2 separate regions of the Homo sapiens genome follow, and region 2 is linked to region 1. Evidence: promoter capture Hi-C in 16 types of primary human blood cells and fetal thymus (Javierre and others, 2016). All regions are on one chromosome and are shown on one strand. The core of a region is centred on a gene start or on the middle of the fragment in contact, and the rest is flanking DNA. Distances in the headings are between cores, read along the strand shown.

Region 1 (4,745 bases), core at 2,054-4,553:
TTTCACTGTTTACTACTAAAAGTGATAACTTAGTGCCACCCCAGGATCCCTCCCGCAGCTGGGAGGCTGTACTTCTTCCTTACCCTTTATTACCAAAAAAGTTCATATAAATAATGCAGGTACAGAAGCCAAACAGGAACAATTTCTTTTTCAACTGTTATTTGTCCTCCAGGGTAAATAGACTTGAAGGTTCAGAAACCACTTGCCAGCAGTTTTCTTTCCTGCTGTCCTCACCTGCTGTAGCTCAAGTAGACGCTAACAGAATACTCAGTTAAAAGGAGGGAGAGGGAGGGGAATAGAAAGAAACCTAATTGTGTTGCTATCACTTGGTTTATCCGGCTAGCAGTCACATGAGTAACAATCTTGCATAAGTTTACCTGAATACTGTTAGACCATAAAGCATTCTTCCTGCTGGGTCAGGTGGCTGCAGAGGTGATCTGTCTCAATGCCAAGGGCAAGAAATAAGGCAAGTAGAATTTAAATGAGGGAAAAATAGATGATGGCACCATATCTATTTAGAGAGGAGAAAGAAATACTATCCTCTGAAATGCACACAGTGACTGACAAAGGGTGACCCAGGCAGTTATCAGCTAACATGAGACCAGGAGCGTAAAGTACGGGATTTAAACCAGTGACTTGCAAGAAATGAGGTAGCAGAGAGGCAGGGAATCCCAAAGTGCCATCCACACATTCCACACTCCATGGATCTGTGCCGTGTCACTGCACTGTTCAAATACGGCATCTCATCGTATGACTTGATCAGAGATTTAGCCAAGACGTGGAGCCCAGGAGGACATTTATTGAGCATACTCTGCTAAGCACCATGCTTTGGTACATGCTAGGTTATCTCATGTGATTCCCCACAAAAAAATCCTAAAAGCAGTGGGCGAGGGTATTATTTCCCAGAGATACTCTAAAGTAACTCAGCTATTAAGTTGGTAGCATGGATATGAAATGAGGCTTGTTTGTTTCTAAAACCTGTGGTTCCTTCCACTCTGTGACACAGTCTCCCCAACTTATTGTTTCTATCCTGGGTTTCATGTTTATTGGGTACAACCTACCTCAATGAAGGCACTTCTGAGCCACCAGAGGTGGCAAGGAAAACAAGGCATAGACTTGCTTGCCAGCAGGAATCAGACTATTCTGAGATCCTAGAGCCATCCATAAAAGCTCATTTTTGTAATTTCTTGGGTTCTGCTTCAGCAACCTGGGTTCTTCTTTCCTAGCTTCTGGCTGCCTGATAGATCGGCCCAACCATCACCCCTCACATCCCATGCAAATGACAGTGCCCAACTCTAGATATTTGCCAACTACTCCACGGAAAATTCTCCCACCCCAAAGAGAGTCCAGTCCATTTGACATAACTGTATACAGAAGTTTTACTTCTGTCTCCAACAGCTGAGTCTGAGGTTCATGGGGCCATTTTTGTCATTTGTCACCCTCTTTTTGTTGCTGTTCTCTAGGACTATGTCATTAGCAGATCAGAGAAAGACGCCTCATTCATACACAAGAATTTGCTGAGTACACACTGTGGAAGCAGGAATGTCCTAGGTGCTGGGAACATAGAGATCACTAGGATTAAGTCTTTATTTCAAATACCCTAGAGTTCTGCTCACCTGTTACAAGGAGTGCTACCTGAGAACAGAGTCCAGAGATTCTGAGCAAAAGCACCTGATTTCCTCATCGGGAACTTCCTTAATGGGAGAGCCAGGACAGCAGCCTAGCTTTGGCAGTTTGGCTCCATTCTGCTCTCTTTATTCAAACTATTGCCTATTGTGTACTGTCTTCCATAGGTGTCTCTTCTGGAAACTGTACTGTGTTTTCCCCCTCAATCTACCTCTTTTTAAAAGCCAGACGCCATCTCAAAAGGGCAAGCTGATAAAAATGGAATGTCGGGGCAGCTATAACCTCTCATCAACAAAGGCGGCTGCCGTGTCTAAGCAGCAGGTTGGAGGCTCACCCAAGGATTAAATAAATGAATTAACAGTTAGAGAGAGAATGTTTTTCAGGCAATATCCTTTGGCAGGATTGTAATTCGCATTCAGTCAAGCTCCCATTTCCCCTTGGCAAAAAATTCATTTAATATGAGAGGACAGTGTGGCTTATTTACCCATTATCATATTTGGCAGTTCTTAAAGTTGCAATGCACCTGTTACTAAAACTCCGGAGTTGTGTCAGAGCCTCAGAAACAGTAAGAGTGGGGAGAAAGTGAAGGAGGTTGAAATTGAAATTTAGGTTAATTTTCACAACTACCTTTGTTCACAGTTCCCTTTCCATTTTTCACTAATTTTTAGAACTTCTGAATTCTTACAAGTTATCAGAAGGAAGGATTTTTTTCTTTGTGGCTTAAGAGTTTCAAACAGACAAACAAAAAATCAACCATCTGTTTCCCTAATTTCCAAGCAATTAGCCAGGTGTTAATTACTCCTCTTGTCAGAGTAAAAGCTGAAGCTTCCATGAAATGTTCTGCTAGTTTAAAATGAGGCATATTCATTCACTTATACACAGAAGTACAGTTTGAGAGTTATGAAGTTTTATAGTTGGTAGCAGATTAGCTCTAATGGCCAGTAAGAAAATAAACATGCATCAGAAAACAAAAATTAAGCAACTATACATACCCAAAGACAAACTTTGTTAAATGCCCAAGTATACCAGATTGAACCAACAGGGATGTGGGGGCAGTTTCCCGGAGACCTGGAGCACCTTTTCATTGGAGTACTTACCCACACAAGTAGAATTCCCATTTCCTGCGAGAGTACCTTCAGGACAGCTCCAGTGCTGCGGTGCTGAGAGACTAACAAAACTAAATTTTGAAACTACTGGCAACAGAATGATAAGAGTGAGCAGCATAATCTTGATGAGTTTGAACTTTCAAAAGAAAACAGCTTGATTTTGCTGGAGCATGGCCCGGGCAAGGTGAGTATGATTGACCCCAGATGCGGCTGCCTGAGCGGAGGCCTCAGCCCTGGGGCATCTTTTACTCTCCTGTTGTGCTGTTGTCCTCCAAGCTCTTTCTTCAACTGAGAGACCTTCTGAATGCAGCCTGCCAAGGGAAGCCACAGGAAAGATTTCTTTATCTATGTTTCTTTGGAAGCCAGTAAGAAATACCTGACACCCTTATGACAAATTTCACAGAGTTTAACAGCCCTGCTCTGGCTGACTTCACTGTGACAGAGCAAGGCAAAGGCTTAGAGAGGAAAAAGAAAGGAAGAACTGATGGAAAGTTCCAGCTACAACCCTTGGATTGGGGCTGAAAGAAGAAATATGGAGATACGATTCCTCTCCCAACAGTTTCTCTTTTTGAAAAGTGGAATGACTCAGCTTTGCTTTTTAAAGCTCTTCAGGCTCCACCTCCTTTCCTTTAGTGACACTTGAGTGAGCCTCTGTTTGCAAATGCGAATGTGGGCAATTCCTCCACACAGGAAAGCAGGGATGACTGCCAAAGAGGAGATAACTCGCTACTCACCATAAATATCCTGGGCAGAACTGGGAGAGAGGAGTTGGGGGCTGTGGAGGTGCTCATGGTGAATGGCGGGAACTGCTAAATATTGGCTATGTTTTAATGTCTGGAAGGATGGAGACAAAATTAAACCATGCAGTATAAATCAATAATAAGCAGCACTGTTGATAGTTTGGATTGATAATAATTGATCATTCACATGAGCAATAGTAAAGATAGTTCACCTTCAGCCCATTATTTGAACGAAATGTCAATACCAGTGCACATTCCAGGAGCTTTATCTTATTTTTCTCTTTCTCCTGTATAGTTTATAGCGGAATTTGAAAGATTATTCTTTCCAAATCAAAGGGAAATCCCTGAGGCCAAATGAAGAGATACAGTATGGACAGACACCTTTTCTTTCAGCATGAGCATGATAAAACATCACGAGGGGCCAGGAGTGCAGAGAAAGGAGTGGATTGTTATTATAGGGACATTGGAAAAAATAAGCTAACAGTGCAAAGCTGGGAAGCACTGGAAATCCAGCACAGAGGAATGCTTTTCCTTCTAAGATAATTTAGGCTTTTTTTTTTTCACATCTCTGTGATAGAAAATAAGAACTGGACGTATCTGTTAGCTGTCTCCTCAACCACTTTCTACTTGGAGCAACAGTGGTTATTTCTTCAGGAGTACAACTAGGGCCCAAAAATACCCAGAAGGCAAACAACTTATAGCAGATTTGATGCACGATGGAAATTTCTGTCAGTTTACTCCATCCTGGAAAATGGACTTTCATTTAAGTTACCCTGAGGTAGTGTTCCAAGTGCTGGTCAAAAATGTACGTAAAAGCAATAGTCACAAAAACAACTGTCACACTAGTGAACACCCCATTACAGAGGAGAACAGACTAACTCTAAGCCTTTTACTCATACTTAATTATGTCCTGATTATTCTCCAAAGACTGGATCACTTTCCTGAAACAGCTTAAGTCAGGATTTCTCCTATTTCAGCCAGCCTCTGCCAGGCAGCTCTGAACCCTTACAGGAGAAACAGACCCTGGGGAAGGGGGAAAGAGAAGTCCTTTAGGTGGTTATGCGGAATATTCCATTGCTTTCTGGACTGAGTCAGACTCAAGACTCATAATGAGCATCCTACAAATAACCTGCACTGACTCTTCGAGTTACTAACTTTATTAATAAGCTTCCCTTTCAGCACAATACATTGCCAGCATCCCAGATGACAGCAATGGAAGGGGCTTAGAGGACAATCAAGCATCACGCTGTGTCAGTGGAGTGGAGTGGAGAGA
Region 2 (5,056 bases), core at 2,407-4,906, 620 kb before region 1:
GGCAATAAAAAGGAATGAAGTAGAGTTACATGCTATATCATGGATGAGCCTTGAAATCGTTATGCTAATTGAAAAGTCACAAAATACTGCATATACACTTTTATTTATGTGAAATGACCAGAAGAGACAAATCTATAGAGGTAGGGAATACATTAGTGGTTGCTTAGGGCTGGGCATATGGGAGGCTGCAGGCATGACAGCTAAAGGGTATGGGGTTTCTAAAACTGACTGTGGTGATGATTACACATCTGTGAATACACTAAAAAACACTGGATTGTACACTTTAAATAGGTGAATTTTATGGTATGTGAATTATATCTCAGTAAAGCTGTTCTTAAAAGGCAATCTACTGGAAACAGAGTAAAAATTTATTGGCCAGGAGAAATCATACCTCATTAATATTTTAAAATATTTTACATGAGCAACTAGGCATATGTAAATAAAGAATGAGTGATCTACTTTTATCTTCAAGAAGACACAAGTGAAAGTCCATACCAAATACTATTCTAAATCAAGTCCTCATGAAATGGGGCAAAGATGAGTCTGGTTTGTCTTAGAAAAGAAATAGTTTTGAAACACCAAAACAAATACAATGGAAAAAATATAAAAAGAAGGATTCTTTCCAAGATTGCAGCTAAAGCTTGCCTTATCTATTATTTTTTTCATCAATCTGGAATTTCGTGAGAAGGTTTACTTGTTTTTATACAACTCTAACATTTTTCAAGTAAGGAAAAAATAAATCAGTGCAGATAGAACACAAATATATTTCCAAAAAATGGTCTAATTTAATGGGAGCATTAAAAAAATCCTCAGGCTTGTCATATAACAGTTAAAGAAATTCAATGGCTTATCTGATAAAAGAAAAAACAAAAAGGAAGGAAGGAAGGAAGGAAACTTACACATTGATCTTCCAATTGTTGGGCATGCGACCCTTCTCCTTTGGATATGGGTATTTATGATAAATCAGTCAGTCAAGATAAATCATTGAAAAGAATATCTCAAGGTATAACAGTTCTGATTGTAGATGAAGATTTGGAATCATCAATAAATTATTTAAGAGATCACTTAGCTGAAGTTTACATAAGTTCCAGCTTTACTGTTGCATCTTTATACTTATATTAGTTTAATGTGGTACATCAATTCAAAGAAGAAATAAATCAATTAATAATATTTACCTTCTTTTTCTGACCTATTAAATAACACACTGCTTGTTATATTATCTTCAGTCCATTTAACTGGGATATTCCATGTATAACTAAAATTTTTTTAAAAAGAAAAATTTAACTTTTATTACTAAAAGATAAAATTTCAAGAGTAAAAATCACTAAAAAGCAATAGACAAGTATATTTTTCTTTTAAATGATTATCTAGTCCATACTACACAATTAATGTAGTTAATACAACATTTTAGTGATGAAGATAAGCTGTGTAACTGTTCTCAATTTCTATAAATCTATAAAATTTAGAAATTGCATCAAAAATTAGCTAAGCATGAAAAAGATTATTTCAATAACATGCTTTGGCATTTTAGAATAAAGATATTGCATAAATTACACAAATATAATACATCTTATTATAATATTGAACATTCACACACATACTTGCACACAGTCTAATATGCTACCATTTCCATCAAGGAACACAAAACATTTTTAGAAATTAGAAGACAAATAGTAAACTCTGTGAAGGAAATAACACATTTTAGAAATTATGCTGAAAGTCTACCACCACCATCATCCCCTAAAGCCTCTCATACCCTCCCCTAAATATCCCCTATTTAGAACTAGAACTGAAGTGCTCAAGGGAAGAATCATCAGGTAAGCATGTTTCAGGAGTTTTCAGTGCTTCTCTTTAGCTACTTAGTATTTTCCTGCAGAGTGGGTAGGTGGGAGTTAACTTTGTATTTTGATATATACACTTAACAGTTTTGTCTTGAAATCTCATTTTTTTTGGTTTGTTCTTATATCATCTCATATCAGAAAATGCAGATCTGGAGAGAAGGTGAATCTACGTACCATTGGCTGGTTTAGGTTTCAACTCAAAGTTGGTTTATCTGTCAACATTCAATTCCCTAACAGAGAATTAGGGTTAACATTTCACCTTTTCAAGATATAACAAAATGTATGTCATTCAAGGAGAATATATTTTTGCTATATACCTGAAAGAAGTAATCCCTTGTTTTATAACTATTGAAGTGTTTTACAGGATTGAGTTTTTTTAAAATCAGCTCCTTTGGAGCATTTTACTGCAGTGGAATGTTTTTGGCTATACGTTTCATAAAACCAACACATAAATTGCTTCTTGGGCCTTATAGTGGACACTGTCAGTGCTTCCTCCTTATCTCCTTAGACCCCTTTCTCTCTTTTTTTTTCTTTTTAGACGGAGTTTCATTCTTGTTGCCCAGGCTGGAGTGCAATGGCACGGACTCGGCTCACTGCAACCTCCGCCTACCAGGTTCAAGTGATTCTCCTGCCTAAGCCTCCCAAGTAGCTGGGATTACAGGCACCTGCCACCACACCCAACCAATTTTTTTGTATTTTTAGTAGAGACGGGGTTTCACTATGTTGGCCAGGTTGGTCTCGAACTCCTGACCTCAGGTGATCCACCTGCCTCGGCCTCCCAAAGTGCTGGGATTACAGGCATAAGCCACTGTGCCCGGCCCCCTTTGTCATTTTTGTACACCTTGGATACCAGTGTGCTTTCCCTGCCTACAATCAATACCTGGGTCTCTCTGACAGAGGACTGCCTTCCAGCTACCTGAGCAAGGAAAGCCAGAAGTTCCTGGGAATTTACGTCCTTCTGGATGTGGCCCTTAACAGTGAGTGACAGGTGTGAGAATGCTTCCTGCCCCATCCATCAGGAGCACTCTGAAGTATGATCTGCACTGGCTCCAGGACTTTCCTGCAGGACTAAGTCAAAGTTACTCTCTTCAGGACCTGCTTCATACAGCACCTTTGCTGGGCTTCCTTTCCTTCTCTATCCCACTGCCTGCTCCCCCACTGATCTTTCCTGGAAACACTTTCTAACAAGTCACTTTCACACACATGATCATTTCGGGGTCTGCTTCTAGGGACACCAAACTAAGAGCCCTTGCAGCTTCTCAGAAGACCGACAAAGAACATTCCTAAGATGCCACATCTTACCTATATACCTCACTTGCACTGGTCTGCTGAATTGGTGCTGCCATGTAAACTCACATTTTATGCTTCCTCTTCTTTCCCCAATGCCAATCTGACTGAAACAACAGAGCAGGCAGCGTCTGGATGACCTAGGCCCACAGTTAAGGTTTCCTATTTTGACTATCCTCTCTAAAACATGGCCTCTGGGACTACACCAGGCCTCAAAAGGGCAGAAGCTGTTCTCCTAATCTCATGTACAAAAATACTGCTCTGAGGTCTTTAAGAGTATCATAAGATAAAAATGATAGAAAGTTGAGGCTATACAATTTTATAGTTTTAGAATCACATGATCTAATGTAATCTAAGCTGAGTAAAATCACAGACTTGAGAGTATAAAATGTGAAGAAATGGAAATTACATAAATGAAACGATTGAGTTTTCTACATATTGGCTAACATTCAGGAGTATCAGGATTCATTTTTATAGACATAGTTCTTCACTATCTAACCATGTAAGAGGTTCTAGCAGTATGAAATATGGCCACTCTAATTTTCTCTAAGGAAACTGACTTTGATTGCACCAAGCTGACACACTTACTCCCATTCCCTCTGCCTGTTTACATGGAGTGGACTATCAAAGGCACATATGCTTTCCTGAGAGAGACATCCCGGGATGGAGATGTGAAACTGGCTCATTTCTAAGAGATGGTTGAGGACATGGTGTTAAAGCAATAACTTATACATGGGTGAGCCATTTGAATTATAAAAAGGTTCTAGTCAGTAAGAATTCCCTAATCTTGGATTATTTAAACAGTGAGAAAATATTTATAGAAGATCATTGAACTCACAGTACAACTTAACTGGCCACACTGTCTACCAAACAGGAACACATCTGAACAGAAAGTAGATGGAAGTTAGGATTGGAAAAAAAGCTAATTCCTTTATGGGTGCATGAAGGCATTTATTATGATCAAATTCTTCTTTTAAACAAAGAAGAATCCTTTTGCTATAATGGTTCTTTCTTATTTGTTCAGGAGCTACTACGGATTTTTAACAAACTTTCTCAACAGAGAAGAACCTCTTTTCTAAGTCTCTTTTCCTATGCATATATGACTTCTTAAAAAATAAAAATAGAATGAACATATTAACTTTATGATAAGCCATCACAAAAAAATTCATGCAACTAAGAATATAAATAAAATGAAAATAGTATCTGAAGGTGGAAACTGAAGACAAATATTAAAGACAGTATAAATGTGAATACAGTTCTATGTTCTAAGTCTTGGTGAATAAAATTTTAAAATTTACTGTTACAAAAATTGATTTTATACCGTGATGATATATTTAGTTCACTTGGCAGTAAAATTGTTTGGTTTGTGTGAAGAGAAATTCATAACCAACAAGCAGCTTGTAAAAATCCAACCCCATTAATTAAAAAAACTCCTTAGTTTAAATTGTTGACTGTCTTTGGCTTAAATTGTTGACTGTCTTTGGCTTAACAAATTAATGGATACATATGAGAGGAAGTAACAGTTACTGGGAAATTTTCCCAGTGTAAGTTTATTTCTCAAGAGAGAAATACTTTTTAAATTTTAATATCCAGAGGCTCCAGCAGTATTAAATAGTTAATCTAATTTGCTAGAACACAAAACAGTAACTATAAAAGAAACACTTTATAGTTGTTAGCAGAACTACCACAGAGATTATTCTATGATTTTCGTAGTTGAATTATCACCTGAAAACAAGTCAGATCTATGTTTCAATTCATGTATCATGAAGAGGAAAAAGTGAAAAACAAATGTTTTCTCCATCATCATCTAATCTTTCCTTTCTAAAATAAAGGTAAGGAGTACACTTACCTGCAGAGTTCAGGGAGTATACAGACACTCCCTGAAGGGACCTCATATTGGTCTAAGTAGTCAAATTTTCCTTTGTTGT

Evidence for each region. The method cuts DNA at HindIII sites, captures the fragments that hold promoters and counts their contacts. A CHiCAGO score of 5 or more calls a contact.
Region 2: a fragment that was not itself captured here is called in contact with the fragment with the promoter of EGF in region 1 in 1 of 17 cell types (erythroblasts); the score reaches 5.4 in erythroblasts.

The regions. Positions count from the first base shown.
Region 1 is chr4:109,911,441-109,916,185 of GRCh38, reverse strand. EGF (epidermal growth factor) reads right to left here and starts at 3,303. Exons shown (of 24, transcript NM_001963.6): 1 at 2,724-3,303. The coding sequence starts at 2,850. The HindIII fragment of the contact is 2,188 bases long and covers 2,454-4,641 here.
Region 2 is chr4:110,527,397-110,532,452 of GRCh38, reverse strand. It overlaps ENPEP (glutamyl aminopeptidase), which reads right to left. Exons shown (of 20, transcript NM_001977.4): 11 at 1,176-1,255. Among named protein-coding and RNA genes, the nearest start is that of ENPEP, 54 kb to the right of the region's middle. The HindIII fragment of the contact is 6,028 bases long and covers 643-5,056 here.